2 separate regions of the Homo sapiens genome follow, and region 1 is linked to region 2. The links are contacts of gene promoters, found by promoter capture Hi-C in human tissues and cell types (Jung and others, 2019). All regions are on one chromosome and are shown on one strand. The core of a region is centred on a gene start or on the middle of the fragment in contact, and the rest is flanking DNA. Distances in the headings are between cores, read along the strand shown.

Region 1 (2,500 bases), core at 1-2,500, 250 kb after region 2:
AGGCCTTTGCCATGTGGCTACAGATGTTTGACTAAGAAAAAGATTCTAGGGCTGGGCACAGTGTCTCACGCCTGTAATCCCAGCACTTTGGGAGGCCGAGGCGGGCAGATCATGAGGTCAAGAGTTCAAGACTAGGCCGGGCACGGTGGCTCATGCCTGTAATCCCTGCACTTTGGGAGGCCAAGGCGGGCGGATCACGAGGTCAGGAAATCGAGACCATCCTGGCTAACACAGTGAAACACCGTCTCTACTGAAAATACAAAAAAATATTAGCCGGGCGTGGTGGTGGGCGCCTGTAGTCCCAGCTACTTGGGAGGCCGAGGCAGGAGAATGGCGTGAACCTGGGAGGCAGAGCTTGCAGTGAGTTGAGATCGTGCCACTGCAATCCAGCTTGGGCGACAGAGCAAGACTCCGTCTCAAAAAAAAAAAAAAAAAAAGTTCAAGACCAGCCTGGCCAACATGGCGAAACCCCGTTTCTACTAAGAATACAAAAATTAGCCGGGCGTGGTGCCTGTAGTCCCAGCTACCCGGGAGGCTGAGGCAGAATTGCCTGAACCCAGGAGGCGGAGGTTGCTGTGAGCCAAGATCACACCATTGCACACCAGCCTGGGCGACAGAGCGAGACTCCGTCTTGGGAAAAAAAAAAACACAGAAAAAGGTTCTAAGCAAAACCATCAGGCAAAGTCCTAAAGGAACTGGAAGTAGCAACTGTGACCTTAGGGGAAGAAAAGACAAGGCCTCAGGCAATGCCCATGGGCCACCGCTGGCTGCCCTCGCTGTGAACAATGCCCATGGGCCACCACTGGCTGTCTGCTGTGACAGGCGCGTCTAACAAGTGCTGGCAGCTGTGACAGGCAGCAGAGAGGGGCCAGATCCACCACTCCCACAGTCCTCAGGCGCCAAGAAGCCACGGGGCCAAAGAGCGCGGCAGAGCAGACGCCAAGAGGACCCTTCTCTGGGTCCAGAAATGCCCCCCAACTGGGAAATCCAGGCATCTGGTCCCCCGAGTTACATACCTGTGGGCTGTCATCTTTCTCTTCCTCCATGGCCAGAAACAGAAAAAACAGTCAGGGGCGAAAAGCAGACAGCCTGAAGCAAACAAGGGCACACCTCTACCCGCTCATGCTCACACCTGGACACTTTTCCCTGGGTTCCTTTCAAGTCAAATTATGTTTCACTGAAAGGAAAATCCTGCTGAAAAAGTCTGTTCTCCAGGAAGAAAAGCTGTCTTTTGAGAAGTGTCTGTCATCTGCTAGGAGCCACCTCCTTCCCTCTGTAAACAGCCCTCACGTGGCTGTCCCGGAACCCAGAACAGCAGCCAGATGGGGCGTATCCAAGCAGGTCAAGAGGAGCCAGGCCCAGCGCGGCGGGGATGGGGGCAGCGCTGCCTTCTGGAGAAGCACGGCTGGAGGGGAGGTGACGCTGGCGGGGCGTGGATCCGGGGTGTGGGGATGCAGCTGGGGAGGAGGGTGCAGCTGGGGAGGGGGTGGATCCGGCGTGTAGGGGTACCGCTGGGGAGTGGGTGCAGCTGGGGAGGGGGTGGATCTGGGGTGTGGGGGTGCCGCTGGGGAGTGGGTGCAGCTGGGGAGGGGGTGGATCCGGCGTGTAGGGGTACCGCTGGGGAGTGGGTGCAGCTGGGGAGGGGGTGGATCTGGGGTGTGGGGGTACTGCTGGGGAGAGGGTGCAGCTGGGGAGCGCGTGGATCCGGCGAGTGGGGGTACCGCTAGGGAGGGGGTGCAGCTGGGGAGGGGGTGGATCTGGGGTGTGGGGGTGCCGCTGGGGAGGGGGTGCAGCTGGGGAGGGGGTGGATCTGGGGCGTGGGGGTGCCGCTGGGGAGGGGGTGCAGCTGGGGAGGGGGTGGATCTGGGGCGTGGGGGTGCCGCTGGGGAGGGGGTGCAGCTGGGGAGGGGATGGATCTGGGGTGTGGGGGTACCGCTGGGGAAGGGCGTGCAGCTGGAGAGGGGATGGATCTGGGCTGTGGGGGTGCCGCTGGGGACGGGGTGCAGCTGGGGAGGGGGTGGATCCGGATTGTGAGGGTGCGGCTGGGGGGCGACTTCCGCGTGGGGTGAGAGGTCGCCTGCGAGGGTGACCGGGCAGGAGGGCTCAGTGCGCAAGCCGGACGTGCTGGGTCCAAGATTATTGATTAATTTGGGCACCGCGAGGGCTCGAGTCCCCCCACACCACTGCCCGGCCTGCGGGGGAGCACAGACAGCCCGGGCCCTCCCGGCTGCAGGTCCCGGGCTTTCCCCGCGCGGTTGCCGGCTCCGCCCAGAGGAGCCGCGCCCGGCGGAGGGGTAAGAAAGGCAGGGTCGCGGCGTCAACGCGGCGGCCGTCTCGAGTCCAGGGCCCGCGTCCTCCCCGACCTCCCGACGCCACCTCACGGCCTCAGGGGGACTGGGCTCCCGGGAAACCGCCGGCCACCTGGCGGACGAACACAGGCAGTGGCGGGCAGTGGAGACGCCAGGGACCACCGCGCTGAGAGCGATCACTCATCCGCCAG
Region 2 (3,746 bases), core at 4-2,503:
ACAAGATAAATAGTTTAGAACACCAGCAACAGCGAACAGCCGAGCGTCTCCTCGGCCGCGCGCCAGCGGCGCGGACCTCGGACCTCGGGGCTGCTCCTCGGCTGCAGCCGGCATCGGCGCGTCCCGGGCCTGCGGGCGGGTCCTGAAGGCGGCGGCGGAGCGCTCCGAGTCCGCCTTCGGCTCCCGCCGCCCGCCTTTCACCTTCGGGAGAAAACATTTTGCGCAGAGGATCCGGTATCTCGGGATTCCGAACTTGCTGGTTGCGAGACTCAAATTTCAAAAGGGGCTGGAGCCCGCGCCCCGCCCCCACCCGCGAGGCGGCGGGCAGGCGAGCGGGTGGGGGCCGTGGGAAGCTGCTCCGGCCCGGCCGGGCCCGGCTAGGCCGCAGGGAGGCGCTCGGCCGGCGGGGCTGCCGGACCCTGGGGCCGGGACGCACGCGCCGTATTCGCCGTGGCCACGGGCCTTCTGGCGGGGCCTGCGAGCCGGGCGCGCACCGAGGTAGTTGGCGGGAAGGTACAGCAGAGACGACGCGGGCGCAGGGCCGGGGTCCGGGGTCCCGGCGGGCATCACCGGCCGCTGGCCGCGTACTTCGCCTTGGTGATGAGATAGAGCACGATGTCCTGGTGGCCACCGAACGCGGCGATGTGCAGCGCGCTCCAGCCGTCGCGGTTGGCCAGGCGGATGTCGGCGCCGAACTTGACCAGCAGCTTCACGAGCTCCAGGTTGCCGTCGATGACCGACTGGTGCAGCGCCGTCTGGCCCTCGGGCCCGAACGAGTTCACGTTGAACTCGCAGTTGGTCATGTTCTGCAGCAGCGACTGCAGCTCCTGCGTGTTGCCCTTGCGCACAGCCTCCTGGAAGATGCGCTGCGTCTGCGGCGCGGAGCAGGTGGACAGCTCGGCCTGGCTCATGCTGCCGCCGGGCGCGGGCCGCGGGCCGGGCCGGGGCTCAGCGCGGGCGGCGGCTGCGGCGCGGGCCCCCGGCTGTCTCGGGGCGCGCCTCGGCGCATGGAGGGCGCGGCGTCCCCGGGCCCCGCACGCCGCCTCTGGGCGCTCCGGGCGCTCGGGGCCGGGGGTCGCCGCCGCGGGGACCCCGCCGCATCCAGCCGCGCCCGGGTGGGCGACGGGGGCGCGCGCTCGGCTCGCGGGGGCCGGGCCCGGCCGGGGACGGCGGCGCCGCGCGGTCCCGGTCCCTACTCGGTTCGGCTGCGGCTCCCACGCGGTCCCAAGGCGCCTCCCCACGCGCCGCAGCACTAGCTCGCCCGCCGCGCCGGGGCGCCTTTTACCTTCTTTATATTTGCATAACAATGGCAGCCCGTGACGCGCGCGCCGGCGGCCCCGGGATTGGGCCGCGCCCACATGGGGGCGGGGCGTGGGCGGTGCCGTGCGCAGGGGTCCGGGGGCGGGTCCCGGCGGCGGCGCGCTTCGCGGCAGGGGGCGCTGGTCGCCGGCAGCGCCTGGGCGGGGGAGGCCAGGTGGCCGCCGGGGGGGTCCAGCTCCGTCGCCGCCGCCGTCCGCGCGCCCCCCGGGCGCTCCGCGTCTCTTTGCGGTCGTCCCGCCCCTTCTCCCTCCGGCCACCCGGGGAATTCCAAGCTCCCTCAGCAGCCAGACCCAGGCCTTGCCCGGTACCCGAGCGCGACCGCCAGGTGGCCCCGAGGGCGGCCTCTCCCGGGCAGGGGGTTCGCGGGCATCTCAGGCCCGTGGCGAAGGAGAGACCCCTCTGAGCGGAGAGGCGCGCGGCGACCCCGGCCAGCCCGCGCCTCCGGGCTCACCGTCCACGCGGGTGGCAACTCCAGGCCCTGACGTGGGGCCTTCAGCCACGCGGGTCCTTCCCGCGCGCGGGCAGCCTCATGGCCGCCGGCTCAGCCTATGTGTGCCCCAACCGTACTGATGCGAGGGGCCTCCGGCCGGCCACCGCGGCTTCTATCGCCTGGCGGTGAAGGGGGTTCCGCTGTCCTCTCGGGAGGAAGCCCCGGGCCGGGGCGCAGCGGGAGGGTCGGGACCGCGGCCTGCCTCCCTCTGCTGCCCACGCACCAGCATGCGGGACACATAGGTCCTGCCCAGGTGAGCAGGGCTAGGTGTGGCGCCAGGGCCAGAAGGGAATTCTGAAACGCCTGGCTTCCAAACTGTAAAACCCATTTTTATTGACCACTCTAACAATTGACCGGGAGGCACTAGCAGGGGAAGCACAGCGCATTTCCTCATTAGAGTTTTACAGTTTACAACTCGCTGTGGTCGTTGGAAATTAAGGAGGAGTGATTCTCAGGCGCGGAGCAGGAGGCCAGGCAGGCTGGGGCTTGAATTCCTTCTGAAGCCAAGCCGGGAATTCCGCGCAGGCAGCTCTGAGCTCGGGCTGGGGAGACCCCCATGCCAGGCCTTGTCTGAGGAGGCTTCCGCCCACCAGCTCCATGTCCCCACATCCGGCTCCCCACAGGGGTGTGTCCCCACCCCATGCTGTGCCCATACTGGCAGGAAAAACTGGGCAGGCTCCCTTCGGGACAGACCCTGGCTGACCGGAGCAGGGTCCTGAGGCCCTGGGGTCCTCCTGGTGGGCTGGGAACCTCTGTCCCTCAAAGGCACAGCTCAGAGCTCGCTCTGGTCTTCCTGGGGCCGTGATCCCGCTGGTTCTGTTCAGCTCTCTCCTTTGGGCCTCACTGCTTCTCCCAGGAGCTCTCAAGGGGGCCACGGAGGGTGGAGGGGTGCTCCCCAATATGCAGGTGAGGACACAGTGGAGTCCCGGAGTAGGCCCCCAGCAGAACAGAGATGGGCGCTGTGGAGCCCAGGCCCGGGGCAGGGATGGCATGGCCTGGCCTGCCGTGCTCTGCTGGGCACCTTTGGCCTCTTAAGGAGGGGGAGCCGCTGGGCTGCCTGCTGGTCCCTGGTGCTGGCTGTGTCTCTGGACCTCAGACCAGGGCTGGGTGTGCAGGGTGCTCTGAGCTCACTGTCAGGAGGGCAGGAGCTCTGTCCTGGGCATTGATGGATTTTGTGCATATGCCCAGGGCCCAGCCAGGCTAGACTGGCAAGAGGCAGAGGGCATGACTGGGGGGTGGGCAGAGCCCTTGGTGCTCAACAGGCACAGGGCCTCCCCTGGAGGGTGGGTGGTTTGCAAACAGGCCGAAGCCCAGGTGGGCTCAAGCCGGGCCTGGAGAAGGCATTTGGCTATGCTGTGGGCCAGGAGCAGGGCCTGGGAGAAAGTGCCGTCGGCATCCGTGGCGGCGGCAAACAAAGGGGCCCTGTGTGAGCTCGGTGTGGGAACGCGGGGCCCCGCCACGGGCGTGAAATCGGCAGCGGCCCCTGGCGAGGGCCAGGCGGTGCGGGCGCCCCGGCAGGCACAGTGAGGCTGGTGTGGCGGCCCTGCAGGGCGGGAACCTACCCCCTGCCCGGGGTCCAGAGCGGGGTCAGGCAGAGGTGGTGGGGCCTGCCACGGCAGTGTGGCTGTGGCCCAAGGCAGGTACCCAGGCTCATCTGTGGGACTCAGAGGCTGGCCACACCACACTGCCCACAGGGAGTTCGCTGAGTGGCCCTGGCTCCTGCTCCTCCACCGTGGCTCCCAGCTCCCCTGGGCACACCCACGGCCCTGAAGCTGCTCCATTTGAGGATGGGAAGGGGGGAGGGGCCGGGGGGGCAACAGCTCTGAGTCAGCACTTCCCGAATGTTTGCTGAGGGACATCCAAAAGGTGGACATCTGTTCCAAATGCTGGGACACGGGGGTCCACCTCCAGCCACCCAGTACTTGTGCTCGAGAGG

What was found. The method cuts DNA at HindIII sites, captures the fragments that hold promoters and counts their contacts. A contact is called where the count stands out against the background at its distance.
Region 1: the fragment with the promoter of PNPLA7 here is called in contact with the fragment with the promoter of NRARP in region 2 in 2 of the 25 tissues and cell types used here (IMR-90 fibroblasts and dorsolateral prefrontal cortex).

Annotation. Positions count from the first base shown.
Region 1 is chr9:137,549,152-137,551,651 of GRCh38, forward strand. It overlaps PNPLA7 (patatin like domain 7, lysophospholipase), which reads right to left and starts at 1,251. Exons shown (of 35, transcript NM_001098537.3): 1 at 1,017-1,251. The coding sequence starts at 1,046. RefSeq lists an enhancer at 360-861 and a silencer at 2,050-2,500. The HindIII fragment of the contact is 18,703 bases long and covers 1-2,500 here.
Region 2 is chr9:137,301,018-137,304,763 of GRCh38, forward strand. NRARP (NOTCH regulated ankyrin repeat protein) reads right to left here and starts at 1,254. Exons shown (of 1, transcript NM_001004354.3): 1 at 1-1,254. The coding sequence starts at 911. The coding sequence ends at 567. RefSeq lists silencers at 112-161, 282-341, 412-491, 1,174-1,813 and an enhancer at 553-1,471. The HindIII fragment of the contact is 30,312 bases long and covers 1-3,746 here.